6 separate regions of the Homo sapiens genome follow, and all the other regions are linked to region 1. The links are contacts of gene promoters, found by promoter capture Hi-C in blood cells and fetal thymus (Javierre and others, 2016). All regions are on one chromosome and are shown on one strand. The core of a region is centred on a gene start or on the middle of the fragment in contact, and the rest is flanking DNA. Distances in the headings are between cores, read along the strand shown.

Evidence for each region. Contacts are between HindIII fragments. The CHiCAGO score rates a contact against its expected background, and 5 or more counts as called.
Region 2: a fragment that was not itself captured here is called in contact with the fragment with the promoter of PRM2 in region 1 in 1 of 17 cell types (activated CD4 T cells); the score reaches 5.3 in activated CD4 T cells.
Region 3: a fragment that was not itself captured here is called in contact with the fragment with the promoter of PRM2 in region 1 in 4 of 17 cell types (activated CD4 T cells, naive CD8 T cells, total CD4 T cells and 1 more); the score reaches 6.7 in activated CD4 T cells.
Region 4: a contact is called between a fragment that was not itself captured here and the fragment with the promoter of PRM2 in region 1, in 4 of 17 cell types (activated CD4 T cells, naive CD4 T cells, megakaryocytes and 1 more). The highest score is 7.7, in activated CD4 T cells.
Region 5: a fragment that was not itself captured here is called in contact with the fragment with the promoter of PRM2 in region 1 in 14 of 17 cell types (activated CD4 T cells, naive CD8 T cells, megakaryocytes and 11 more); the score reaches 14.1 in activated CD4 T cells.
Region 6: a fragment that was not itself captured here is called in contact with the fragment with the promoter of PRM2 in region 1 in 16 of 17 cell types (activated CD4 T cells, naive CD8 T cells, naive CD4 T cells and 13 more); the score reaches 20.0 in activated CD4 T cells.

Annotation. Positions count from the first base shown.
Region 1 is chr16:11,274,383-11,279,153 of GRCh38, reverse strand. PRM2 (protamine 2) reads left to right here and starts at 2,674. Exons shown (of 2, transcript NM_002762.4): 1 at 2,674-3,054; 2 at 3,217-3,515. The coding sequence starts at 2,784. The coding sequence ends at 3,254. The region is part of intron 1 of LOC105371082 (a long non-coding RNA gene); the gene reads right to left. The HindIII fragment of the contact is 881 bases long and covers 2,377-3,257 here.
Region 2 is chr16:11,734,785-11,739,555 of GRCh38, reverse strand. It overlaps TXNDC11 (thioredoxin domain containing 11), which reads left to right. Exons shown (of 12, transcript NM_015914.7): 2 at 3,323-3,539. Among named protein-coding and RNA genes, the nearest start is that of TXNDC11, 5.7 kb to the left of the region's middle. The HindIII fragment of the contact is 386 bases long and covers 2,863-3,248 here.
Region 3 is chr16:11,714,754-11,719,524 of GRCh38, reverse strand. All of the region lies in intron 5 of TXNDC11 (thioredoxin domain containing 11), which reads left to right. Among named protein-coding and RNA genes, the nearest start is that of TXNDC11, 26 kb to the left of the region's middle. The HindIII fragment of the contact is 4,629 bases long and covers 212-4,771 here.
Region 4 is chr16:11,687,072-11,691,842 of GRCh38, reverse strand. TXNDC11 (thioredoxin domain containing 11) reads left to right here. Exons shown (of 12, transcript NM_015914.7): 8 at 1-553; 9 at 3,398-3,540; 10 at 3,877-3,986. Among named protein-coding and RNA genes, the nearest start is that of SNN, 21 kb to the right of the region's middle. The HindIII fragment of the contact is 1,215 bases long and covers 1,818-3,032 here.
Region 5 is chr16:10,948,658-10,953,428 of GRCh38, reverse strand. All of the region lies in intron 1 of CLEC16A (C-type lectin domain containing 16A), which reads right to left. Among named protein-coding and RNA genes, the nearest start is that of CLEC16A, 6.5 kb to the right of the region's middle. RefSeq lists an enhancer at 3,716-3,865. The HindIII fragment of the contact is 1,038 bases long and covers 1,766-2,803 here.
Region 6 is chr16:10,982,139-10,986,909 of GRCh38, reverse strand. CLEC16A (C-type lectin domain containing 16A) reads right to left here. Exons shown (of 24, transcript NM_015226.3): 10 at 3,919-4,032. Among named protein-coding and RNA genes, the nearest start is that of CLEC16A, 40 kb to the right of the region's middle. The HindIII fragment of the contact is 1,125 bases long and covers 1,488-2,612 here.

The DNA.
Region 1 (4,771 bases), core at 1,425-3,924:
CACCACCTTGCCTGGCTAATTTTTCTAATTTTTTTGTAGAGACGAGGTCTCACTATGTTGCCCAGGCTGGTCTCAAACTCCTGGGCTCAAGCGATTCTCCTGCCTTGGCCTCCCAGAGTGCTGTGATTACAGGCATGAGCCACTGCACTCACCTACGGTGGGTATCAACAACCATGTTCTTTCAAGTGAGCACATGAGAGTTCAGTGCTAGCCCTGGCACTACCATGACCCTGATCACTTTAGCAATGACTCCCCATAACACACTCGGATCATGATAGCAGCTTGGCTGGACAGGCAGACCCCTGGGTGTGCCTTTTTTTTTTTTTTTTTTGAGATAAGGGTCTTGCTCTGTCACCCAGGCTGGAGTGCAGTGGTGTGAACGTGGCTCACTGCAGCCTTGATCTGTGCTCAAGCAATCCTCCCATCTCAGCCTCCTGAGTAGCAGGAACTACAGGCACATGCCACCATGGACCCAGGCTATTTTTTTTATTTTTTGTAGACAGAGCCCTCACTATGTTGCCCAGGGTGGTCTCAAACTCCTGGGCTCAAGTGATCTTCCCACCTCGGCCTCTCAAAGTGCTGGGATTACAGGTGTGAGCCACCACACCCAGCCCCTTCCTATGTTTATTTTATTTTATTTTATTTTTTTAGACGAAGTTTCGCCCTTGTTGCCGAGGCTGGAGCGCAATGGTGCCATCTCAGCTCACTGCAACCTCTGCCTCCTGGGTTCAAGCAATTCTCCTGCCTCAGCCTCCTGAGTAGCTGGGATTACAGGCGCCCGCCACCACTCCCGGCTAATTTTTGTATATTTAGTAGAGACAGGGTTTCACCATGTTGACTAGGCTGGTCTTGAACTTCTGACCTCAGGTGATCCACCCGCCTCAGCCTCCCAAAGTGCTACGATTACAGGTGTGAGCCACCGAGCCCTGCCCCGCCCCTTCTTATTTTCATCTGCAAGCTTTGGCCATGGAGATTTGACTTAGCGGGACGTAGGGTAAGGCCTCAGCATTCATATTTTTAACACGCGCCCTCGAAGAGCTTGAGGGCCATCATAAAGGACCTTCTTATCCCTAAAGAGAGGCAGCATAGAAACACCAAGGGCATGGCAATATCACCCATCACCTCCTGTAAGGATCTGAAGATTAAGCCTCCTGAATTTGTTTCTTATTGCCACTGTGACAGATCATCACAAATTTTGTAGCTTTAAACAACATAAATGCATTATCTTACAGGTCTGCAGGTCAGAATTCTGAAAGAAGTCTCATGGGGCTAAAATCAAGGGGTCAGCAGGGCTGTGTTCCTCCTGGATGCACGAGGGGAGGATAACCCATTTCCTTGTCCATCCCAGCTTCTAGAGGCCGCCTGCATCCCTTGGCTTATAGCCTCTCCCTCCATCTTCAAAGCCAGCAGTGTGGTGTCTCCCAGTTTCTCTTCCTGTGACCCTCCTGCCTCCCTATTCTCTCTTCTAAGGACCCTCGTGACTGCACTGGGCCAACCCAGATCATCTGGGATGATCTCTGCATCTTCAAGTCCTTAAATTTGTGTATCTGCCACATTCCCACATTCTCCCTGCCCTCCATGAAAGGGAAACTGGTTTTGCAGTTTCTGTGATTCTGATCCCGGACTTTAATGGGATCATCAAAGTTCAATGAGAAGCCCCGGCAAGGCCGAGCGGGAGGGGAGAAGATGAATATTTTGGAGGCGGAGAGGGGAGCATTCCCTGGGCTAGGGAGGAGGTGGAGAGCCAAGGGTATGACTAAAACCAGGCTGTCTCCGTCTGAATGCTGGCCCGGCCTGGCCTTCTCAGCAGAGTGGCCTTGAGCAACTCAACTTCTTCATGCCTGTTTGCCCCACAGAAAATGAGGATTGTAAGAGTGAGGAATGCAAGGGTGGTGGCTCACACCTGTAATCCCAGCACTCTGGGAGGCCGACATGGGAGGCTCACTGAGGCCAGGAGTGTGAGACCAGCCAGGGCAACATGGTGAAACCCTATCTATCTCCACAAAAAATACAAAAAATTAGCTGGGAGTGGCAGCACACGCCTATAGTCCCAGCTACTCGGGAGGCTGAGGTGGCAGGATCATCTGAGCTGGAGGGGTAGAGGCTGCTATGATCCATGATTGCACAACTGCACTCCAGCCTGGGCGACAGACAGTGCCTCAAAACAAAAAGAGGAGAGAGAGAGAGAGAGAGAGAGAGAGAGAGAATGAGTGAATGTATGGGAAATAAATGAATCAATGCTTGGCACATAGGAGCTATTAGGGAACTGTTTGCTGCTGTTGCCATCTTAACAGTAAGCTGTGTGCACAGAGATCCAAGCACGGAAGTCCCTTCCACATGGTGGCTGTGGCACAGCAGTGAGTTGGCAAGGAAGCTTCCAAATGACAATGTGCGCACCCACCGGCTTGGGGAGATGAGGGCTTGGATTAGGCAATAAAACACCTGCCATCTGTATGGTTCACCTACTGCAAGAGACAGAGGACATGCTTTACAGGCAAGGCAAGGGGGTCTCTCGCCCTTCCAGCCCTGCAGCTTGGGTGCCAGGGCCCTGCTAGTTGTGACCCCTGGCCCTGTGCTGCCCTCACAGAGGAGGCTGGGCAGGGTGGGGACTGGGCGGGGCCGCAGAGTCATAGTGGGCGCCCCCTTTATATACAAGCTCCCGGGGAGCCTTGCAGACCAGACCAACAGTAACACCAAGGGCAGGTGGGCAGGCCTCCGCCCTCCTCCCCTACTCCAGGGCCCACTGCAGCCTCAGCCCAGGAGCCACCAGATCTCCCAACACCATGGTCCGATACCGCGTGAGGAGCCTGAGCGAACGCTCGCACGAGGTGTACAGGCAGCAGTTGCATGGGCAAGAGCAAGGACACCACGGCCAAGAGGAGCAAGGGCTGAGCCCGGAGCACGTCGAGGTCTACGAGAGGACCCATGGCCAGTCTCACTATAGGCGCAGACACTGCTCTCGAAGGAGGCTGCACCGGATCCACAGGCGGCAGCATCGCTCCTGCAGAAGGCGCAAAAGACGCTCCTGCAGGCACCGGAGGAGGCATCGCAGAGGTCTGCCTGCGCCCCCGCCTTGCCCTGCATGTCCCTGACCACCCCAGGCACAGGAGGGAGGCGGGGACCCACCCCACCTGACAAAAGCTCCAGCCCCCTAACCCCCGTCCCCACCCAGAGTCCCTAGGTGACCCCCTCAACCAGAACTTTCTTTCCCAAAAGGCTGCAGAACCAGGAAGAGAACATGCAGAAGGCACTAAGCTTCCTGGGCCCCTCACCCCCAGCTGGAAATTAAGAAAAAGTCGCCCGAAACACCAAGTGAGGCCATAGCAATTCCCCTACATCAAATGCTCAAGCCCCCAGCTGGAAGTTAAGAGAAAGTCACCTGCCCAAGAAACACCGAGTGAGGCCATAGCAACTCCCCTACATCAAATGCTCAAGCCCTGAGTTGCCGCCGAGAAGCCCACAAGATCTGAGTGAAACGAGCAAAAGTCACCTGCCCAATAAAGCTTGACAAGACACTCGCTGGCCTGTCGGGTTTTCTTTGCACGAATCACACAAACCTGGCTTCCCTCACGCCCAGGGCGGGTAGAGGCTTCTCTGCAGCCCTTCCTCAGAGGCAGGTAGGGCGGGAGTTCTGATGCTCTCAGGACACCTAGGAGAGGGTTACTGTGCCTGGGAGGCCACCCTATGATGCTGTCCTGTCTATTGTGCATCCTTCCATGGTGTCAAAGGCCACATTAGTCTGTCTGGATCCCCCTCCAGTGAAGAACCTGATCCTACCTCATGAAAGGAGAAAATGGTTAGAACAGATCGAGTCCTAATTAAGTCACAAAGATGCCAAGGCACCTTGTGGCCATATTTAAATGCCTACTGTGTGCCACAGTTTAAAAACACAACCCATCTTGAGTGTTGGGTGGTTGGAAGTGTAAACGGTGGGGGCAGAGGTGGGGGCACTGCTCAGTGCAGGCCACAGCTTCGAGGTGGGAAACAGGTCTGGCATGCTCCAGCAACAACTTGGTCAGCACAGAGACGGCAAAAGGCAAGGAGTAGATGAATGCAGAGTAATGGGCTGCGCTGTGTGAGGCCTGTGCTGGCTGAAGCCTCTGGAGACCCAGGCAGAATCCGATCCTTGTTGCCTGCTCTCCTCGGCCTGTGGCTGCATCACTCCTCCCTCCTGTCTGAAATCAAGGACCCTTGTGATTGCACTGAGGGACTTTCTGGACAACCCAAGATAACCTCCCCATCTCACAATCCTTACATCATAGATTCCAGGATCAGGAAGGGGGCACTTCGGAGAGTGCCAACCTTAGCCAACCATAGCCACTGAGGACTGGGGGGATAAGACTGGCAAGATCCAATCCATATGTTGGCAAATGGATTTCTGGTGCTCAGAAATGACCAATCTTTAGGAAGCAACGAGTTTCTGAAAACAAAACAACAACAACAAAAAAAAAAACAGACGGAGTTTCGCTCTTGTCACTGGGGCGGTGTGCAGTGGTGCGATCTTGGCTCACTGCAACCTGCACCTCCTATGTTCAACTGATTCTCCTCCCTAACCTCCTGAGTAGCTGAAGGAGCTAAACAAATTTTTTTTTTTTTTTTTTTTTGGTATTTTTAGTAAAGACATGGTTTCACGATGTTGGCCAGGCTGGTCTCGAACTTCTGACCTCAGATGATCTGCCTGCCTCGCCTCCCAAAGTGCTGGGATTACAGGTGTGAGCCACCACGCCTGGCCTCAAAAAATTTATATTTAAAAAATACCATTGCAGTGTAC
Region 2 (4,771 bases), core at 1,806-4,305, 460 kb before region 1:
AAAATTGGGGTTTCAACAGGCCTTTTTTCTATGTTGCCCCGGCTGGAGTGCAGTGGCTATTCACAGGTGCAATTATGGCATGCTGCAGCCTCAAACTGCTGGGCTCAAGTAATTCTCCTGCCTTAGCCTCCTGAGTATAGTAGCTGGGACTATAGGCACATGCTACTGGCTCAGCAACAACAGGCCTTCTTATTTGCAACCAACTCGAGTTTTTTGTACCCGAGACATACCCCTCATAGCTGCAGGAAATCTTTGCTCTATGTATAGTTTCTCTAAAGCGTGAAGCAGATTGATGAGTTAAATAGAAACTCACCAGTGTTTCTGATGGAGTAGAGGCGAGCGTTTCTTCTCCCTGGCCAATATTTGATTTTTGATTGGCCTTGTACTTTATCTGGCTCATTTAGGAATGCTTCTGAATATGCAGAGCAAAATTACTGAGTTGCTCTTTATCCTTTCGTTGACTGTCAGACCTACATTTTTCCTCAGATTGCATTATTTGATGCTTACATTGCATTTTTTTTTTCTTTTGAGATGGAGTTTTGCTCTTTTTTCCCAGGCTGGAGTGCAATGGCGTGATCTTGGCTCACTGCAAACTCCGCCTCCCGTGTTCAAGCGATTCTCCTGCCTCAGCCTCCCAAGTGGCTGGGATTACAGGTGTGCACCACCATGCCCAGCTAATTTTGTATTTTTAGTAGAAATGGGGTTTCCCGGTGTTGGTCAGGCTGGTCTTAAACTCCTGACCTCATGTGATCCACCCGCCTCTGTCTCCCAAAGTGCTGGGATTACAGGCGTGAGCCACGACTCTTGGCCATGTGCAGTTTGAATGGTAGAAAAGTAATTTCTCCAAAGAGCAGAATTTTGGATCTCTTGAAAACGTGTCTTTTTTTTTTTTTTCCTGTAGTGCCCTCCCCACCTCTTAGGTGGCTATCTTCTTGTCATTCAGGTCTCAGAGCTTAAATTATAGCACCTCCCAAGCCACCACTCCATCAGAGGAGCTACCATGCCCTTCTGTACATCACCTTGTTAAATTTTTCACATAGTGAGCATTTAGTATATTTTTATTGTTTACACATTTGATGTTTTTCCTGTCTTCCTCCCCTAGAAAGTGGTCTCCTCGACAACACGCAGTGCTAGCTGCCGCAGCCTTAGTGCTTGTGCCCAAAGCACAGTCACAGCTGCTCAGTAAAGAATTTTTGAATAATTGTGTAAGTGATTTTTTCAGGTTATGAAGGCATTCTGCATAGACTGAAAGCTCTCTGATTGAAGGTTAAAATATTAGTTTGAGTGAATAAATAGGTGACTTGCTCCGTTGGATACTTCTGCCTGTTCTGGAATTTCATATAAATGCAGTCATAGTGCATGTACTCTTTAGCACTTTTTTCACTCAGCATAATCATTTTGAGACTCATCCAAGTTATAGTACATATGAATAGGTTTTGCTTTTCGTTTTTATTGTGGAGTAACATTTAAGTAAATGGGTAAGAATATACCCCAGTTTATCATTTTACCTCATGAGTCATGCCAGATTTCTTATGCTCACTATTTACATAGTTTTTCTTTTCCCATCCTTATGCCTTTATCCTGTGTCTTTATATTTAAGATATATCTCGTTTAGATAGTGCATAATTGGGTCTTGCTTTATCCTGTCTGGCAGTCTGCTCCTCCTAATTAGGTTGCTTCCTTTTTTTTTTTTTTTTTTTTTTTGAGAGACGTAGTCTCGCTCTGTTGCCGAGGCTGAGTGCAATGGCATGATCTTGGCTCACTGCAACCTACACAATTCTCCTGCCTCAGCCTCCCGAGTAGCTGAGACTACAGGTATGTGCCACCACGCCCGGCTAATTTTTTGTATTTTTTTCAGTAGAGATGGGGTTTCACCATGTTAGCTAGGATGGTCTTGATCTCCTGACCTCGTGGTCTGCCTGCCTCGGCTTCCCACAGTGCTGGAATTACAGGCATGAGCCACCGCGCCCGGCCTCTCCTTTTATATTTAACGTAATTGTTGAGGTAGTTGGGTTTAAGTCTACCTTCGTGCTCCTTGTTTTCCATTTGTACCGTCTGGCTTTTGTTCTTTTCTTGTTCCTTTACTTACTTTCTTTCTTTTTTTTTTTTTTAGATGGAGTTTTGTTCTAGTCACCTAGGCTGGAGTGCAATGGTGCAATCTCGGCTCACTGCAACCTCCGCCTCCCGGGTTCAAGCGATTCTTGTGTCTCAGCTTCCCGAGAAGCTGGGATTACAGGCGCCCATCACCACGCCCAGCTACTTTTTCATTTTCAGTAGAGACAGGGTTTCACCATGTTGGCCAGGCTGGTCTTGAACTCCTGACCTCAGGAGATTTGCCTGCCTCGGCCTCCCAAAGTGCTGGAATTACAGGCTGAGTCACCACGCCTGGTCTCCTTTACTTTCTTTGGGGTTAATCTCATCGCGTTTTAGGTTTCCATGTTTATGTTCTCTATTTATCTCGTTTAGATAGTGCATAATTGGGTCTCATTTGTTTCTTAGCAAAGCTGCCCTAATGGTTTGTGGTATGTGAGTGTAGATGCATGGACAGCTCAGGGTGTTTACTAGGGCCCTTCTACTTGGTGGGATGCAGCCTGGGCCTAGATCTTTAGGTCTTGATGGGGAAAGTTACTTCTGACCACTTGTTTGTTCAGCGTTCTTTTCTTTTTCCTCCTGATCTGTTTCTTGTGGGAAGCTCAAGTGTTCAAAAAGCCCATTTTCCAGTTAAATAGGCTGTTGCTTTGTTACTTATCTTCATTAGTCTTAGGATTATGATATATATCTGGAGGAATGTATATTATTGTTTAATTGTTACTGTTACCTGAATGCCCTGGATAAGTACAAGCCAACTCCAGCTAATAAGCTTAATGTTTTCTCAAAGTTGAGTTGATTGTAAGCATCTCCCGTGGAAATCTTGTTAATGGTAGTTTACATGCTCCCTCACCGTAATTCTGAGCTTGCATGCTGGTGGCTCTAAAGCCCTGGAGATAAGTGGCTTTTGTGGAGAGCCAGGCTGCAGAAAAAGGAGGATGAAGTCTTTGGGATGTGGGGAGCAGGAATATGGATTATTCAGAGACATCCTTCTCTGCTCTCCACTGCCCTTCCAGCCTACACCTAGGGGACAGAATCTCAGAGAATTGTTTCCAACGTATTATTCATGTCTTGCATTTGCTCAGCCAGATGTTGCCTTTCTAGGGCAGTGATTTTGGGACTCCATTTTCTTATTCAAAAGAGGATTTTCCTTTTAAGCTTCATTCTACTTCCACAGAGCTATTTTTAGAAGAAGATAAACTAAGCAATCTTTTCTGTGTTTGCTCTTTTTTAGTCGAGCAAAAGATGTGATAATACCAGCAAAGCCACCTGTCAGCTTTTTCTCCTTGAGGTCTCCAGTCCTTGACCTCTTCCAGGGGCAGCTGGATTATGCAGAGTACGTTCGACGGGATTCAGAGGTGGTACTGCTCTTCTTCTATGCCCCTTGGTGTGGACAGTCCATCGCTGCCAGGGCAGAAATTGAGCAAGCAGCAAGTCGGCTTTCAGATCAGGTAATGCTCACATTCAGCTTAAGAATCAAATGACTGTCAGTCCTATATGTAGGGCAGGATGTCCCCACAGAGACACCTTGCCCAACGGGCAGACTTTGCCAAGGTGAACTCCAGGAGTCGTTTCTAAGTTACAGAGCTTTCTATAAAGCAACAGAAAGGATTTCCAATTGTGGCGATTGTACTCCAAGGCAAGTGTGGGAGCAGATTCTGAATCTCATAACACAAGCCAATGCTTATCCTGGGGTGCCATACTGTTTGGTTTCAGCATTGAAAAAGGTAGAGGGACTGAAAATCCTAGTTCTTGCATATCCATTTGATACTTGCTAGTTAGGTATTTTAGGTAAGAAAATGTATGTATGATATGACTGCATTGTAACAAGGCCGACCTTTTTAATATATGGACCAGAACTATATTCAGCAGATAAGGAATGCCACCTTTGGGCTAGGTAAGAAAGATATATAGGCAAATAAGTCACCTGTTATGGCAGTGGTTTTCAGCCCAGTGGACCCCAGTTGTGCTTTAGAAAATAAGTATTTTATGATGTCCCTTTTTCTTCCTAAAAAGGAATTCATAGATGATAAAGTTTTCCTATACATGTAATTTCAAAATAATCTAATGCACGGATTGTAACATAGAGGTGAGGGGGGAAGAAAGTAATTTGTAACTAAATGATATATATTTTAGTATGTAAGTGCACAGTCAGAACAGGTCCATATACCTTTATGTAGAATCACTGAATGGGATAGTTACAAACGTAGACTGATAAAGGTGATATGTTGGTGACTTACCTGCCACATGGACATTGCTCTTAGTAATTGATTATCCTAAATGGTGAACAGTCTTGGTAAAATCCTGAACTATGCAAAGCCCTTTCTGCTCTCAGTTTACATAGAAGTTGCATTCCTGAAAAATTCAGTGAACACAAAAAGCATGCTTTAGATTCACATGTAAAATGGAGCTAGGTACTGGGCTTTGATAATAACAGGTTTTCCCCAACATCAGTGTTTGGCAGGCGTTTTGAACTCCTCTGGAATGCTATGGACGACTCTTCCGTGTGCAAAGCAGGTTTGAGTGTAGCAGGACATCTACCAACACCCCTGCCCTACGTATGCACTGTAGCTTCCCCCAGTCATTGTAGCAAGCCAAAAGCATCCCACAGATTTCTAAGACTCTCCTGCTCAGAACCACTGATGTGAAGTAACGTGTGTAGGCAGCTGAGTTCCAGAAGTTC
Region 3 (4,771 bases), core at 1,277-3,776, 440 kb before region 1:
GCAATTTTAATATATACCTTGAAGGTTTTATGGACAGAGAATCTACTATATTCACATTGTTTGTCTGGGAGACATAGGGGGAGAAAAGCTGTCATATAAGTATGTCTGTCTAATTGAAAGACTTTGAGCTGCACAGTTTCAAGTGACTAAGCAGACTTAGCAAATGGAAGTTTGAACTTTGGAAACAAAATACTGCCAGCTTAAATAAGCTTAAGAAGCATCCATTCAAAGCTCTTCATGGAAAATTAAATAAAGCCCTTCACAGAAGACAGACCTTAATGAAGACTATATAAAAGGGTAACCTAGAGTCATTCACTAAAGTGATGGTAGCATTCAAGTTTGTGAGCTGAAGAGGCCATTTCAAGGTCGTAGAAGCATGTTTTGTTATTTGATTGGCTTATATTGTGTGCTGCTATGCCGTATTAGAAATACATTACTCATCTTAAATTATTTTTTCATTCAGAGGTTTCTAAAAAGGTGTTCCTTTTAGGAATACCCTTCTAATAAGAGGCAGCAGCCTTTTTCTCCTTTCTTTCAGCAAAAGAAGGGTAAATAGTGATAAATAAAATAGATATAAAATAAGGTTGAAAGGGATAAATGGTTAAAAATTACTCAAAGGTTCAAAATGAACCTCCTTGGTCAAATCACTAATTTTGACAAGTTTATGTGCTAGTTGTTTTCATAATAAATGTGGTCTGATTTACTTTCTCTACATCTCTTCCCTATCCTGTGATTCTGGTTGGAGCTTGTAAAATTCTGTTGCATATGCAAGTTTGCAGGAGCTGAGATTAATTAATTAATTAATTCTAATTAATCCTTTTCACCCCATTTTTTTGTGGCTAAATTCACACAATTGGAAATGATGATTTTCTGTAATATGTGCACTATGAAGGATTCCCTAAAGTAAATCTTGCCTTGGGCATCTGGGGTTTTTCTCCCTTTCTTCTACCCTGAAGTCAAATGGTGTTTTCCTTATTATTAACAGCAGATGTGCAGTAAGAGGTAGGAGAAACACATGCACATTTAAAAAAAAAAGATACAGTTTCAAATTAAATTCTAGGTCAATGTCATGTTTAGATTGTATGTACAGATCAAGGCTGGAGAAACATTTGACACATATAACATTTAGTTATAGAGAACTGAACTGAAGAAGTGTTTAGACTGTTGTAGTAGAAAGCAGATGCCTTGGTTCAGCTGGCTACCAGCATTTATACAATACACATGCCTTTCCCCTGCCTTAATGATTTTTTTTTAAATTGTCTTAGAAATAGCCAGGCCACTTCAAAGTTCTACATTTGTTTTTTGAAGCTAGCTGGTCATCAGTGCATAAATAATTTGCGAGAGTACCATGTCTGAAGCATCACAGGGCTGTAGGGTGTGCTGTGAGGAGAGCTTATTCCTGGCCCCCAGCATGCGAGGCTTGGGTTATAAGATCGGGTTCTGTGGTCCTTTACCCCCCACTTAACGCAACTTGTCAAACATTTGCTATTTTTACACATTAAAAGAAAGGAAATTCACTTACCACCTCAGCACTCTAATAGTAACTGCCTTCTCTTGTTGTTTTAACTGTTTCCTTTTTTCTCCAGGGCTCGGCCTCAGTGCTGATCTGTCAGTTTACCTTGGTCCACCTGTTAAGGTGTTGTGGACAGGAACTCTTGTGCATATTTCTGTCCATTATTGTATTAGCCTTTCTTTTTTTTTTTTGAGACAGAGTCTCTCTCTGTCGTTCAGGCTGGAGTGCAGTGGCGAAATCTCTGCTCACTGCAACCTCTGCCTCCGAGGTTCAGGTGATTCTCCTGCCTCAGCCTCCCGAGTAGCTGGGATTACAGGCGCCTGCCACCACGCCCAGCTTATTTTTTGTATTTTTAGTAGAGACGGGGTTTCACCATGTTGGCCAGGCTGTTCTTGAACTCCTGACCTCATGATCCGCCCGCTTCGGCCTCCCAAAGTGCTGGGATTACAGGCGTGAGCCACTGCGCCCAGCCTGTGTTAGCCTTTTTTACTTCTGTTATTATTATTTATGTAGTGCTTTCGTATTTTCTTTAAAAAAAAGTTAAATCTCTGGTTCTTTTTTTTTTTTTTTTTTTTTTCATTTGGAGTCTCGCTCTTTTGCCCAGGCTGGAGTGCAGTGGCATGATCTCAGCTCACTGCAACCTCCGCCCAGGTTCAAGGGATTCTCATGCCTCAGCCTCCTAAGTAGCTAGGACTACAGGCGCCCACTACTGCGCCCACTACCACGCCCGCCTAATTTTTGTACCGTTAGTACAGACAGCTTTTTGCCATGTTGGCCAGGCTGGTCTCAAACTCCTGACCTCAAGTGATCCACCTGCCTCGGCCTCCTAAAGTGCTGGGATTACAGGCATAAGCCACTGCGCCTGGCCTTCTGGTTAGTTTTTCTTGCTTTTTTTTTTTTTTTCCTGAAAATCTGATGACTATATTAGTTTATTTTCTTCTTTTTTAAATTTAAAAATTATTTAGCACTTTATGCTCCCTGGCTTTACTTTGGCTTAAAATATAGAGCACAGTTGATTTTTCCCTCTCTCATTTATAAAATGATGTTTCCTTTCTTTCTAATCTTGATGATGCCTGCTTTAACTACAGAACATATTTTTCCATGGATTTGGGTCTATTTCTGTGATTTCTTTTGGTCTGGATACCTATTTTTGTCTGAGTAAACATAATCTAAGTTCTTACTTTGTAAATTGTTATTACTTGGTCAAGTCTGGACTTCTTGTAGTTCTTGTGTTTTGTGGAATATTCTTTTATGTCCATCCGTGCCTTTGGCTGGAATTTTGTTGAAATTATGTTAAATATATAAATTGACTTGAAGATAATTGACATGTTCATAACATTTAGCTTTCCTTTCTAGGTGCACAGCATGATTATTCATTTATTCAAAACTTCCTTTTAATTTTTTATAGTAGGTCTTACATATCTCTCATTAATGTTTAATCATTTCACAGTGCTAGATGATTAATTGTGGGCTGGCAATCTTTGTATATGTTTCAAAAGCCTGGAGGAAATCAGCTCTCTTGTACTTTACTCCTCCAGGACTGCAAAGCCTGTTCCTCTTGTAACATTTTTACATTTGATCTTGGCAGAGAGGCTACTTTATTGCCAAAAGAAAATTTGGTAGAGGGGTCATATTCTGAAGTTGCTTGCTTGATTTTTAAAAATCTGATGATTATTTCATTATTTGCTGTAAAAATGTGTTCTGGTAACATTTTGTCATACTCTGCTATAATTCAGTGGCTTTTTTAAAAGAGAAGATTTGCAGCAAATTTTGACCCCATTTTTCATCTGATCTACAAAAGGACTTGCAGTGCAGTCTAGGGAGAAAAGCAGTGGGCTGGGAGGCAGCAATGCCTGGTCCTTACCCTTTGTCTGCTCCTGGTGAGGTCTGTAAACTTGGAACAAAATATTTAACCTTTCTGTGTTTGTGTTTGTTTATCTTTAAATTTGGGGAGGGTAGAGGTAAGTATATAAATCCTTATTTTATAAGGTCAAATCATGAAATACTTTGTGTGTGAGTAAAGTAATAAAGCGAGTAAAGAAATACTTTGCGTGCAAGTAAAATAATAGTCTTTATACCTTAATTAGAAACTAAGCCATCTGGTTGAAAGCACCTCAGATAAGTATTTTACCTATTCTAGTGAAAAAATCCACACAAGAAATGATGTCATTGACTGACCAGCAGGCCCAGTCTTTCTCTTCCCCTTTCCCGTGCACCTCCTACCTGCTTCTATTTGTAACGCATGGTTTTCTCCCTGTCCAATGGACTGAATCTCTCTGCCACCAGAATAGGAGCTAATTTTTCAGATAATATTTACTGAGGACCTTGATGGCAGGGTTTTGTTTTGTTGCTCCTACAGCTCCACACCGTGCTTGGTGAATGTATGACTGGTAAAGGACGCGTGAGAAAGATTTTAGCTACGGGATTTTAAATGTCACTTTGGATCCCCTCTCACTACCTTCTCCACTTCTTGTGCCTGGCCCTTCAGGCTCAATAGACCATAGTGTAGGAATTTCCCTGCCTGGTTCATTCTTTTTTTTTTTTTTTTTGCCGTGACAGGGTCTCACTTTGTTGCCCAGGCTGGAACGCAGTGGTAACCTTGAACTCATGGGCTCAAGCAATCAGATTCTGCCTCAGCCTTCTGAGTAGCTAGAACTACAGGTGTGCACCAACACACCAGCAAGTTACAACAATTTTTTTTTGTAGAGATCAAATTGAAATTCACATGGTACCTAAATACCATCTTGGAAATACACTAAACTATTTTTTTGTTTTGTTTTGTTTTGTTTTGTTTTTGAGACATCCGTTCTCTGCTCACTGCAACCTCCGCCTCCCGGGTTCAAGCAATTCTCCTGCCTCAGCTTCTCGAGTAGCTGGGACTACAGGCACACGCCACTAGGCCTGGCTGATTTTTGTGTATTTTAGTAGAGACGGGGTTTCACTGTGTTGCCCAGGCTGGTCTGGAACTCCTGAGCTCAGGCAATCCTCCCGCTTTGGCCTCCCAAAGTGCTGGGATTACAGGCGTGAGCCACCACGCCCGGCCACACTAAACTATTAACCAAAATATTGTTTCCACTCCCTTCTACCACCTTTGGGAATTCCTAAACTCAGTTGATGAGGAAACCTTGTAGCATTAGTAGCATTAGTTTTCTAAGGAACTCCCTTTGGGAAATAGTGTTTTAGAGGAAAGGTATTAAATGGAGGAAGAACTTTGATTCCAGCGTAGTGTCCCTGTACTCCACCAGGTGGCGTCTGATG
Region 4 (4,771 bases), core at 1,176-3,675, 410 kb before region 1:
TCCGGGGGCATGAAGCCGAGCTCGGTCAGCGTGCCACAGTGCAGCTTTTTTGAAATGGCAGCAGCTCTGGATTCTTTCTACCTCAAGGAGCAGACCTTTTATCATGTGGCATCAGACAGCATAGAATGCAGCAATTTTTTAACTTCCTATAGCCCCTTCAGCTACTACACTGCATGTTGCAGGACCATAAGCAGGGGTGTGTCAGGCTTCATCGACTCTGAACAAGGTGTCTTTGAAGCCCCTACTGTTGCATTTTCTTCCCTTGAGAAGAAATGTGAGGTTGATGCCCCAAGCTCCGTTCCTCACATTGAGGAGAACAGGTATCTCTTTCCAGAAGTGGACATGACTAGCACAAACTTCACAGGCCTGAGCTGCAGAACCAACAAGACTCTCAACATCTACCTTTTGGATTCAAATTTGTTTTGGTTATATGCAGAGAGACTGGGTGCTCCGAGCTCCACTCAGGTGAAAGAATTTGCGGCAATTGTTGACGTGAAAGAAGAATCTCATTACATCTTGGATCCAAAGCAAGCACTGATGAAGCTCACCCTAGGTACTGCAGGCAGTTTATTTCCCCAAGCATTGTACATTTTGCTTGACTTCATATGGGTAAATTTTATTGATGGCTCTCATTACATTTAGTTGTGGGGTGATGTCACCTTCGTAGCTCATTTTAAGTCTTTAGACCACCATCAGTCATAATTTTCAAAGAAGCTAATTTTGTCTATTAAATGGAACAGAAACTTCCTCACTCTGAATTTTGGATAAGTTTGTCATTTAGCCCATGGTGGGGGTAAGAGTCCCACTTTCTAAATTGGCGATTTCTGTCACATGTCTAAGGTAGAACCAGCTGCAGGCAGTGGGGACTTGGGGACTAGAACAGGCAGGGAGGTGGAGAGCTATTCTGGTGGGATGTCCTAGGGGCTGATGAAAGTGAGCCTTGACAGCAGCTTTGTTCTAAAGGAGCTTAAAGAGAAAGCAGTGGCCGGGCGCAGTGGCTCACGCCTGTAATCCCAGCACTTTGGGAGGCCGAGGCGGGTGGATCACGAGGTCAGGAGATCGAGACTATCCTGGCTAATGTGGTGAAACCCCGTCTCTACTAAAAATACAAAAAAAAAAAAAATTAGCCGGGCGCGTTGGCGGGCGCCTGTAGTCCCAGCTACTCGGGAGGCTGAGGCAGGAGAATGTCGTGAACCTGGGAGGCAGAGCTTGCAGTGAGCAGAGATCGCGCCCCTGCACTCCAGCCTGGGCGACAGAGCAAGACTCCGTCTCCAAAAAAAGAGAGCAGTGAAGAAGGAAGTAGAGCCGCCTTGCCTCCCTTTTTGTCTCATAGGCTTAAATGTCTAAGGATCAAGGCCACCAGACCTAATTTGTTCTGCTGCTGTTTCATAATGTACTGAGTAATATTGCTGGGACCTGGGGTACCTACACTGTAACAAGTGTAAAGTGCAAATAAATAAGTGTCAGTCGCAAACCAGCAAAACCCACTTTTTGAGGAGTAAGGCTCCATGATGAGAAAGCACCCAGAGCTTGCCCCTGGGACTTGGCAGCAACATTGGGCTGACCCACCCTGGCCTGTTCCCAGGAATTTGCTGATGCCCTTGACTACACACAATGAAGTGAGAATTCAAAAGCCACGTTAGTTCAGCCTCATTGGAAACGGGAGGGAGGGTCAGTGTATGCCGAATGGAGAAAGGAGGAATTTGGTAGGGAAGGAAACCTTTCATTTCAAGTTTTAAAGTATGAACTCAACAGTAGACTCAGAGCTTCTACATATGAGTCTTTTTAGCCATCCTCTTTCAAATCTAGGTGAAGCTTGTTTCTTACATTAGACACATTTGTGAAAAGGCTTTATGTAAATATTGATTTTTCTATATCAAGTTACATATTATAAATCCAAGAGTTCCTCACTGTGTAAAAGAACCCTGTGACCAGTCACTTTTTGAAGGGCATAAATCTGTCGATATTATAGATTACTCCCAATTCATGTTATCTAAAGTCATTTTGATGTGTTGAGCTTTCTTAAAATGAAACAAGCATTTTTTTTTTAAATGGGAAAGAGACTCCAGAGAAATGGGGTCAGTGTTCCTACAAGCATGTATTTTTGAGGTAGTCTGTATTAGATTTTCCTGAATTCCATTCAGTAATGCTCAAGTGTTTAATGACCTCATAATGTGTTCACTTTGAATTTAAGGGTAATTGAAAGAAGCCTTCTTTAGATTTCTTTCCATCTTCTGTATCTTCTCTGAAATGTTTAGCCTAGCTGTTCTTTGTCCTGCAGTTAGTGACAGAATTCTTAGGGAGCTTGTAAAAAACACCTACTGTGTGTCATTGTTGGTTTAGAGACTTAACTCATAAATCAGCTGTCTCTAGGCTAGTTTCAGAATTTAGGCTTTATTCAGATTAGGAAATAATTCTTGGTTTCATGTTTCAAAAACATAGCCAACTAAGTGTTTCTCAGATGCTGATCATGAATTCTCTTTAGTATTCACATGACATTCTTCACTTCCTCTTCCATTCTGCACGCTGCATTGCCCATTGCACCTCAAAATGGAGGGAGTTAGAAGAAAGAAAAAGAACTGAAACTTTAGCTGAGTGCAATGGTGGACGCCTGTAGTCCCAGCTACTCTGGAGGCTGAGGTAGGAGGATCGCTTGAGCCCAGGAGTTTAAGGCTACAGTGAGCTATGATTGCAGCACTGTACTCCAGCCTGGGCAACAGAGTGAGACCCTGTCTCTTTAAAAAAAAAAAAAAAAGTGAAATTCAAATTAGTATTGTTTCAGATGAAGCAAAGGACTCTGAAGATGGCAGAATTTGTGGTAAAACTGTTGGTTCAAATCAGGTTTTTGATTATTATGGGTTTTATGTATTTTTCCACTACATATAATTTTTTCTTAACCTTTAAAAAAAGAAACTTAAAGAACCTTAATAAAGGAAACAAAAAACTGTAGCTCCTTGTCCTCAAATTAATGAGCATTTAAACACATTCCACACTACTGTAGCTTGTGCAGTTGTCACATTTGTGGTTAAGCTTAAAGGTCTTAGTATTATAGGGTGAAATTTCTTGAAAAGATGGTGGCTTGTTGATGATTTATACAGTCTCACTTGGTGTCTATTTGTGGACCAGTCCTTTTAAAAAAAGAATAGTCTATGAATATTAGAGCATCTAACATTGCATAGTGTTTTGTTATCCACATTACTGTCTGCTGAGTTAATACTACCAGAGCTAAACCTGATGCCACCCGGGCAGCTTTGTTTGGGGTTTTGCTGATAGGTGAAATGTTAAAAATGTGAGCCTATGAAGTCATTTGAGTTTTTAAAATGTGGAGTTTAAAAGTAGGCCAGCTATTCTCTTTGTATCTAGAGGAGAGTTGATCTCATTTTCTCTTTATTTTTAGAGTCTTTTATTCAAAACTTCAGCGTTCTCTATAGTCCCTTGAAAAGGCATCTCATTGGAAGTGGCTCTGCCCAGTTCCCGTCTCAGCATTTAATCACTGAAGTGACAACTGATACCTTTTGGGAAGTAGTCCTTCAAAAACAGGTATGGAGTCATGAGAGGCAAAAGTTAAGCCATCTGTCCCTCTTAAAATAATTTCCAAACTACAGTTGTTGGGGTGAGCAGCTGTTTTTGATGTATAGAAGAGTAACCACGTGATGGCCCAATTATGGACCGTGAATGAATTACATGTGGTTTTTAAATTTCAGAAAAGTGCTCCAGAAAGCACAGTATTGGAAAGACCTAAAGATGAAAATTTTCACTGTAATATTTGCATAGGTAGCATTTTTCGGGTGCTTGCTGGATTCTAAGCAATGAGGAAAGAAATGAAGAAGAGCCCATTTCCCGGTGCAAGTAACATCTGTCTTCCCTTTCCCACAGGACGTTCTCCTGCTCTATTACGCTCCGTGGTGCGGCTTCTGTCCATCCCTCAATCACATCTTCATCCAGCTAGCTCGGAACCTGCCCATGGACACATTCACTGTGGCAAGGTAAGCAGGCCTCTTCTGCAGCGCTTTGGGCTGTATGCCCATTTTCACTCTTATTTGCAGCTTAGCCATATGGTGTGTGAGGGTCTGCCCATTTTCCATTAACCTTTGGTAGGACTTGGCTGAATTTAATTGTCAGGTTGAAGCCATGAGCAAAGCCTCTTTGAAACTGAACTTTTCCTCATGAATTCTGAGTGTTCCTTCCATGATGTTGATGTTTAGCCCTGACTAGATTCGTAGGTGGCTGAGTGCAGTTCTGTGGGGAGAGCACTGACCTGGTTGCCAGGATGGCCCCGTGGAATACCATGGGACAGTTGCCCCAGGCAATGCCAGTGGGTCCTGGGATCCCAAGCAGATCTCTCCACCAGCCCTGGTTTATCTCATTTGTGAAATTAAAAGGAAAGACCAATAGATATCCACATTCTGGTATTGTGATTCCATGGGTACTGTATGTGCGCTTTTGAGTAAACAAAATTTTTAAAAATATTTTTTGGGAAAAGAAGGCTCAAATACAGAGTCTTTAGATGGGGTAGTAAGCAGTTTTGGGTGAGGAAAACTGTTCACATTTAACCCCCCACCTCCCCCAAAACCCTACAGATAGATAAGAGTTAAATATAAAAAAATCAAAACAAAAAATAGGATTTGCTGATTCCTCTGGGAGATGGAAACTTTCCAAAGTGGAAGCAGTTGGAAAAATAAAGAGAGAAAAATGGACAGATTCCACTAGAAATACGTGCAGTGAAAACAGGGAAAGCAGACAAAAAGGGGGACCATTAATATATTTTCCA
Region 5 (4,771 bases), core at 1,035-3,534, 330 kb after region 1:
CTTCTAACAAAGTTACTGTTTTACTCTTCGCATTCTGACTTTGAGTACATCTGGAACTGATTTCTGTGTAGGATATGAGGTACTGGCCAAAATTAAGTTTTTCTATATGGAAATCTACTTGACCCAGCACCATTTACAGAAAAGGCCCTCACTTCTCTACTGCACTCCAGCGCCACCATTGTCATTAATCAGGTGACTACCCATGTGGGTCTCATTCTGGATACTCCAGTTTCATTGATCTATTTGTCTATCCTTGTATCAAGACCATACTGTCTGATTACTGCAGTTTTACAGTAAATCTTGCCATATAGTAATTAAGTCTTCCAACTTCTTTCCTTCTGTTTTTCAATATTGCCTATTCTTGGCCCTTTTAATCTCCATATACATTCAAAAATCACCTTCTTCATTTCCACAAAAATACGTGCTAAAATTTTCTTAGACTTGCCCTACATCTATGGCTAAATTTGGAGAGAACTGACATATTTACAATAGTGTAACATTCTGATATTTACAGCATTTGTTTCCATGCTCACTTGACAGGAATCTTGCAGATCTATTGTTAGAGTTGCTGCTAGGTAGTCGACATTTTTTTATGCTATTGTAAATGATATTGTTTCAAATATTCATTTTCTAAATGTCTTTTGCTGGTATACAGAAATACTCAGTAGACTGCAAGCTCCAAAGCTCAATGAGGGTTACACCTTCACCTTGCTCGTCTTTCTGTCCCACAATGCCCTGGCACACCGTTTTACACAGTGTTTTAGGAAGAGATGCTCAATATACATTTGCTTGAATGTAATGGGGGGAAAGGCTGAATGGATTAAGATTTAATGTTTTAATGGTGTATCTAATTCCAGGGCTTTGGAAGATTAGGTAATTCAACCACCTCAGAGATATAAACATTTTAATAACTTTTTGTTGTTGTTGTCATTTTCTGAGATGGAGTCTTGCTCTGTCATCAGGCTGGAGTGCAGTGGCGTGATCTTGGCTCACTGCGGCCTCCGCCTCTTAGGTTCAGGCGATTCTCCTACCTCAGATTCCCAGGTAGCTGAGTTTATAGGCGCAGGCCACCATGCCCAGCTAATTTTTGTACTTTTAGTAGAGATGGGGTTTAGCCATGTTGGCCAGGCTGGTCTTGAACTCCAGACCTCAACTGATCTGCCTGCCTCGGCTTCCCAAAGTGCTGGGATTACAGGTGTGAGCCAACTCACCCGGCCCATTTTAATAAAACCTTCTGATTATAAATGTAACATTCACTTTAGAGAAGTAGGAAACTTTGACAACAATGAAAGAGAAACGGCAACCGTGGTGCCTAGAGATGACTGCTGCTGGAGTTGCAATCTATTTCCTCGGGTCTTTTTCTTTGCTATGGATATTTACATAGTTGAGGTCATGTTGCATTATCCATTTCAGTGCCAATCTTATTTCCCACCTCAGCTAAAACAAAAGCACTTTTTTTGGTTATTGACAACTGTTTGCAAATATCTGTAATGGCTACACAGTATGACACTGAAAGGACAAGCACAGTAGCAACTCTTTTGAAGGGCATTAAGATTCCTAATTGTGTGAGTGATAACAATGTTGCTATGACCATCTTTGTATGGAAAGCTGTGTCTTTATCTCAGAAAAGTTTCAAAGGACAGAATAATTACCTTGCTACTTAACGGCAGCAAATTAAAATGTTTCTCTTACAATGATAACCACTGTTAGAATGACAACGTGTTTTCTCAAACTATGTATGTACCTCAGTAAAACAGATGAAGCTTCCTATTACTGCCAGTCTCTGTCTGAGTGCTTCGTTTAATCCCAGAAACAATCGACCCTTTGGGGATGATGCTCTGGGAGCTGAGGCATCTGCCCAGGGCCCTGGTGCAGCACAGGAGGTGCCTAGGTTACAACCAGGCAGACTGAACTCCAGACCCCATGATTACAACCCTTCTAGGACTACAGAAATGCAAACAATGAAGTAAGCAACAATTTTATTGGCCAAGAATTTACATGAGGTTATGAATGCCTAACACACAAAAAATAAATTAAAAAAACACCAAATAGATAAACCAAAAAGGCATGAAAATACTATCAGATCTTATGGAAAGTCCTTATAAAAGGCTCTAACTCCCATTTGTCTGGAAAAGAGCCAGTATTCTCATATCCCCAGCAGGAGCTCTGCAGATGCAGTCTCAATATCCGAGCTTTGCCTGTTAGCTAACTCTCCACCGACAGATGAGCTTCAGAGTTTGAAATGCCTGGAGAAGAGAAACTGTAACCAACACACTCGAGGTGCATCACCAAGGATGACAGACGTAAACAAATCTGGCCTCAATAGCCTCTGCTTTCTCAAGAGTCACTAATTTCACAGGTTAAACCACTACAGTTAATAATGCCCCATATCCTTCAAAAATTAGCAATTCAGTCCATTTCAGAGACAGGAATACTAGGTCCAAGTTCATTTCAGTGACAGCATTTTCTGCACGTGCTATGCCTTGCACCATAATGAGCTTATTAGGATGCTCCTCCTTCAAGATTTTGAAATGTACATTTGCAAGGTGGGGCATGAGAAAGGATAAGCAGAATGATAGGAGGTCTGGGGGTTAGAAATTTACCCCCCAATGTCCACACAGCTCCAAATAACAATGTCTCAGGTGTGGTAGAGGGATGGGAGACACAGAGCCTGTATCTGTCTGGCCTGTTCAGCACTCGGGCAGAGGCCCTGCAGACGTTCCCCAGTGTGTCCCACTCTGTGCCCTGAAAACCACCATCTGGTCAGTGTTCAGCCTTCTGGCCAGCAGGACAAGGAGAAGCTTCACGGAGGGTGGAATCAGGCTAGAGGATTAGAGAAGGTGTTCACAGGCTGTGCTTCCCCTGGTGAATCATCCCCCAAAGATGTCAAACAGGGCCGGCAAGTGAGGCTGGGCCGGGGATGTGTAGGGTATAGGCAGGGCTATACCCTAGCTTTCTTTAGGGCTTTAGCCCTAGAGAAAGTCATGGCTGTGGCACAGGTGCTGTGACTAAACTGGGGAGAACAAGCAGTTGTTGGGAAAAGACTGGCCTTTTCTGAAAACAGAGGTCTGCCTCTCGTTCATCCTGTGACAAATATTTGTTGATTGCTTACTATCTGCCACGTCCTGTGCTGGCATACCAGTACCCAGCTGAACAAGCCATACAGGCTTTCATGATTCTTATGTTCAAATTGGGAGAAAACAACAAAAAAGATATGTAACAAAGGAAGACAATGTCTGATAGCCAAAGGACAGGAACCCCGGCCAGCTTCCTGAGGGTCTAACTCAAGGCCGAGATGAAACTTTAAGAACGCACAGGAGCTAACAGCCGACCCACTCTTTGGCGATGAGAAGTATATAATAATGTGTTAACTGTGTGGGACAGTGTGAACAGGCACAGAAGAAGTTAGAGAAGACAGCAAAACTCTTGTTGGCTGAAGTCACCAGGGCAATTTTTAGGGAAGAACTGGCATTTTCGGGATAGAGCTAGGGATTTGGATGGGCAGGAGGAAAAGAGCAGGGGACCTCAAGTGGGCAGGCGAGGTATGTGTGTGAGTGGACCACCAACAGGAGATACACCTGGATGACAGCAGCTGCTACCGTAACTCACCAGGGGACGGCAGCAGAGCCCCTGCTCCCCGCCCCACCAACACATGTGGAGGCCCACCTCCAGTCTGCCCCTCATCCAATCCATTCTGCCAGCTTCAGCCAGACCACAGCCTTTCTGTAGTTAAAAAACCTTCAGTGGCTCCCTACTGTTCTCACTCATAGTCTGAATTCCTTAAAGTGATTTACAGGGCCCCAGGGGACCTGGCCTCTGGAGACTGCCAAGCATGGCTCTGAGCTTGGGTCCTCACTTCCTCTTCACCCAGTGAACACTCCCCTGCTGAACCACGTGAGTTCTGCCAATGTGCACTGCTCCCCTTGCCCCACTAGGCTTTCTCAAATGCCTTTTCCTCTGCCTGAAACATCCTTCCTTCCACCTGACACCCCGCTGCCTGGTAACAACGACTCACCCCGTTGGTCTCCATTTAAACAGCGTCTGCCTAACAAGGATGTTCCTAACTCCCTGTGCTCCCAAACTAGATGGTGGGAAGGCCTGGAAGAACTTAGACGTGACATAGTGGGAGCCTAGGACCCATAATATGTGGCATGGTGAAGACGATATTTTAAGAAAATCAACATGGCAATATTGTACCCCAAGCTCTAACACTGTCAGTGCCACCTTAGCCAAAACTTGAAAGCACCAAGAGTAGGTGTGCGTCTGTCTACCTGCCATGGATCCATTCTCCGCCTTCTTTGGGCAATAACCCCTGATTCTCCCATGGGGAACCACTCTTTTCTCTCATTCTTTTCCACTAGCTTGAGTGGAGCTAATCCCACTCTTGCTCCAGGGAAGGGAATATGAGTGAGGAATGGCCAATCAGATCCCCCTATACCTTTGGCCAGAGTGACAGTTCAGGGGTGGCATGAGACCTTGCTGGTCCAGGGATACTCAATCTCAATTCTGGACTTCTGCTGGCAATATTGAGAAAAGAAGCTCTCTTTTTCCTCAGGAATGCTAAGCTGATATGATGTAAGCCTGCAGCCTGCCTGAAAATGACACCAACAGGAAAAAGGTAGAGCTGAAAGGTGGAAAAAGGCCGATTTCTGACGGCTCCAAACACCTGGATTCAGCCATGGTTTAGCGGGGACAGACCATTCAGTGACATGAGCTATTCAATCCATTTGAGGCTTAAGGCAATTCTAGCTGGGTTTCTGTCACTGGAACC
Region 6 (4,771 bases), core at 801-3,300, 290 kb after region 1:
TGTACTCCAGCCTGGGCGACAGAGCCAGACTCTGTCAAAAACAAAACAAAACAAAACACACCAAAAAAAAAATCAAAAAAACTAAAACTGCATAATGATGGATAAATGGATAAAGAAAGAAAAAGAAAATGTGGTATATTTCTTGGTACACACACACACACACACACACACACACACATTGAGCCTTAAAGAAATAAATTCTGATATATGCGACAACATGGATGAATCTCGAGGACATTACATTAAGTGAAATGAGCCAGTGACAAAGACAAATGCTGCACGATTCTACTTATACGAGGTATCTAAAATTGTCAAACTCATGCAGAGAGGAGAATGGTGATTGCTGGGGCTGGGGGGATGGAGAGTTGTTGTCCAGTGGGTATGAAGTATCAGTCATGCAGGTGACTCCACAGAGCAATGGATAGCACATTGTACTTCTGAAGTTTCAGTATGCAAGATAAATGAGATCTAGAAATCTGCTGAATGATGCTGTGCCTACACTCAACAATAATGTTAACCATACAAATAAAAATGTGTTAAAAGGGTAGATCTCATGTTGTGTTCTTATCACAACTCTAAAAATGCAGCAGGCCGGCTCATGCCTGTAATCTCAGCACTTTGGGAGGCTGAGGCGGGTGGATCACGAGGTCAGGAGATTGAGACCATCCTGGCTAACATAGTGAAACCCCGTCTCTACTAAAAATACAAAAAATGAGCCGGGTGTGGGGGCAGGCGCCTGTAGTCCCAGCTACTTGGGAGGCTGAGGCAGGAGAATGGCGTGAACCCGGGAGGCAGAGCTTGCAGTGAGCTGAGATCGTGCCGCTGTACTCCAGCCTGGGCGACAGAGCGAGACTCAGTCTCAAAAAAAAAAAAAAAAAAAAAAAAAAAAAAAAAAAATTCTGCAGGCCAGGTGCAGTGTCTCACACTTGTAATCCCAACACTTTGGGAGGCCAAGGCAGGCAGATCAGTTGAGCTCAGGAGTTCAAGAGCAGCCTGGCCAACATGGTGAAAGCCCATTTCTACTAAAAATACAAAAATTAGCTGGGCGTGGTGGCACATGCCTGTAATCCCAGCTACTTGGGAGGCTGACGCTTGAACCCAGAGGCAGAGGCTGCAGTGAGCCGAGATCACGCCACTGCACTCCAGCCTGGGCGACAGAGACTCCATCTCAAAATAAATAAATAAATAAAAATAAATAAACAATGCTGCAAACCCCAGAGCCCAGCAATCTCTGGTTTCATCTCTTAGAACGACAAGTCTAGCTTCAGCACTGCAGAGGGTATCTTACAGTAAGACAATCTGAGATGAAGCCACGGCAGCTATCCTCAGGCTTGGAAATCATGCAACTAAAAAAAAAAAAAAGTCCCGAGGGACCCAGTACATCTCCAGTTGCTATTAACATATTAACATCAATGTAGTCCCAGTTAGCAGTGGGCAGGTTTCACGGTAAACACGCCTCATCTGATGGGGGCAGGCTCTGCGAAGCTTCCCGTAGAAACGTGCATTGATGGGGACCAGATCTTCTGACTGTTGGAGAAGATTCCAAAAATCTGGACTTTTCTTCCTAAATTTTAATGTTGGCAATTCAGAAAATTTTCTTTTAAATACTGCAAAGACCAAACCAAATGAGTCTGGTGGCCAGTTTGCAACCCAGCAGGCACTTGATGGGCACTATATATATATATATATTTTTTTTTTTTTTTTTTTGAGATGGAGTCTTGCTCTGTCGCCCAGGCTGGAGTGCAGTGGCGCAATCTCAGCTCACTGCAAGCTCCGCCTCCTGGGTTCACGCCATTCTCCTGCCTCAGCCTCCCGAGTAGCTGAGACTGCAGGCGCCTGCCACCATGCCCGGCCAATTTTTTTTGTATTTTTAGTAGAGACGGGGTTTCACCGTGTTAGCCAGGATGGTCTCGATCTCCTGACCCGGTGATCTGCCCGCCTCGGCCTCCCAAAGTGCTGGGATTACAGGGGTGAGCCACCGTGCCCAGCGGGCACTTTATATTTTGCCCCCATCTCCATCAGCTCTCTAGAGCAGGGCTTGCGCTGCCTGTTTTCTAAATGGAGTGAAACAACCTGCCCGAGACCAGGTGGCTGGCAGGGCACTCTGCACCTCTAACTGGAGGCCCTGCTGATTCTGCTGACTCAGCCTTCCGTGACTTACATTCATTTAGCAAACGCTAGTTTAAGAAAGTTGCAGAGAAATATCTAGGGCCCCATAAACTCTGAGTCAGCTGTACATTTGCCAGACCGTGTGTTGTCATGAGATGGACCACTAGGAAAATCTTTAACACATCACCCCTGTCACCTCTAGGCCAAAGCCTCTCACCAAACACTTCTTCCCTTTAGAGCGCTTATAAGAGTTAAGACAGTGAGTTATTTGCATATCTGATCCATGTCCACCTCTCTACTGTACTGTAAAGCTCGAATACGGCACAGACTCTTTATGACATTGTGTATCCCCAGAACTAGCATGATACTTGGCCCAAAGAAAGAGCTCCATCAACACTGCTGAATGAATCAAGAAAGGGATAGGCCAGACAGGGGCCATGAAAAGGCCCCAATCAATTCACTAATGCCACCACCACTAACAAGGACAGAGTTTCTGGGAAGCTTTTCAGAGGCGCTAATGCTCCCCTGAATAACAAAATGACCTGGCCAGACCATCATACACCAAAACCAGTGGAAGGGCAGGGGCCTCTTGTAATTGTACTCCATGCAGTGGTGGCCTTTCATCCACAGGGTCACATTCCACCCATTCATGTAGGTGGGGCAGCAAATCTACTACCCCAGGGCGAGCTGGCCCTTTTACCAGCCTGGCCACTGCCTGAGCACCTGGCTGCAGAGAGGAAACCTTTATGAAACAGCCCTTGTATAAAACGCACTATGCTCATCTCACTTACCCACTCTAAGCTCCTTATGGCAGGGATCTCACCTGTCACTGAATCAGCTGCAGCCTGGGCTCCGCATAAGTGAGATGAGCATTTGTGCAGCCCAGACTGCAGCTGATTCAGTGACAGGTGAGATCCCTGCCATAAGGAGCTTAGAGTGGGTAAGACCTTTGAAAAGAGGGAACCAGGTGCATCAGGAACCAGGCTGTAGGTACGGTAAAGGCGCAGGTTCAAAGGCACAAATGCTGGACATGCTGGGGGAAAAGCAAGTCAGACCAGGATTAAGGCAGCTGGAGCTCAGGACATGTGAGCAGGATCTGAGAGATGACAGCAGAGATATACAGAGGACAAGATGGAAAAGCTTCAAGAGAAGTCACAACACTGGCCATCAGGTGTTTTCCCTCAGCAGTGTACCAAATGGAACGCCAAAGCTCCTTCCTGCAGACCACAAACATGCTACTTAGTCCAAAGCTTGATGATCATTTAAAACTAGAGATTACACGTAACAATGCGTTTTTCCCGCTTCTCTAGAAACATGAAAAAACCTAGTAATCCTACATCCATATTCCTGCAGAACAGCAGCAGCCTGGGGTAGAACAGGAGCTGCTCGCCAAGGTGGCATACACTCTCCAATTTGCCACACCCCTCGCCACTCTCTACTGCCCTCACCTGGGGCCTGAGTCATTCATGGATGTTCATCGCCCAACTTCTGTAGACATTAGTTCCTCTGATAAGGCATTTTCTCACTGTGTCCCGATAACAGTGTCTCACAGATATGCAACCTAAGGCCCGGAGTGGTACAATTCCATGTTTAAGAACACACAATCAATCAAATCCAGGTGGTCCCTGATCCCAGCTTCTCTTGGGTATGCAATCAAGACTCTGATTAGGTTCACTGAATCCCGGACCAGCTTATGCATCATCACTGCTATATATTCAGAATGTTAGTTTCTGATTTTAGAGAAACACACAGATTAGCAAAATGAGCAATGGTTTCCTGTTAAGGTCAGTCCCGAAGCTAATGACTTACAGAACTTCTCTGAATATCCTGTTCAGTCTTAGCGTACATCTCAGACAGATCACCATTCAGAATGACTTCAGCTAACGAGTTCACCAGCGGTGCATGATGTATAATTAAGAAGACCTGGCGGAAAAAAAAGAAACGGGATTTGCATGAAAGTGTGCGGTATTTTCAACCTCTTGCTTCCTGGATCAGAAGCGACCAGGCTGGGCTACCTAAGTCCTGTATTAAGCAGCAATTCCTACGATGCAAAATTCAAAGAATGAGCCACAGGAAGCAGGACTCGGTTCCACTCTTGTAAGGTCAGTCTCTCCTTCAGACTGTTGCCTATTTGGCTGGCTGCTCTTCCTCGGAAGGAAGTGCATTAATGCGAGACTGTCCCTCATGGCTGGGTGAAGCCAAATCCGGCTGAAGTGGAGCAATGCGGGAAAGAACAGCCAAACCAGCACACTCCTTCCTTTCCATGGGCATTTTAGTGTCAAATTTGGTTATGAGAAGACTAGAAGGCACTGTCCCAATACTTTAGTGATACAAGAAGAAGGGGCCGGAGAGTTTTGTTCCAATCAAGGACTTGGCAGAGGGTTGGCTACACAGAGATTCCATCACGGGAGGGAGCTCTGACCCTGTGGTGGGTTTTAGCACACGGGGATTCCACAGCATCGTCAGGAGGTATGTGAACTACGGGGCTGAAAATCACACGAGACAGAGGCAAACCCAGGTGGGCCAGGATGCAAAATCAGAGGGCTGCCTCTGGGCTAAGCTGGCCCTGCTCCCACACCTGTTGCCCAATGTTCAGAGGACCAGCTTTAAGAATCAGGGTATTCAAAACTGTCTTGCAAAGCTGGCCTAGACATGCCTGCTA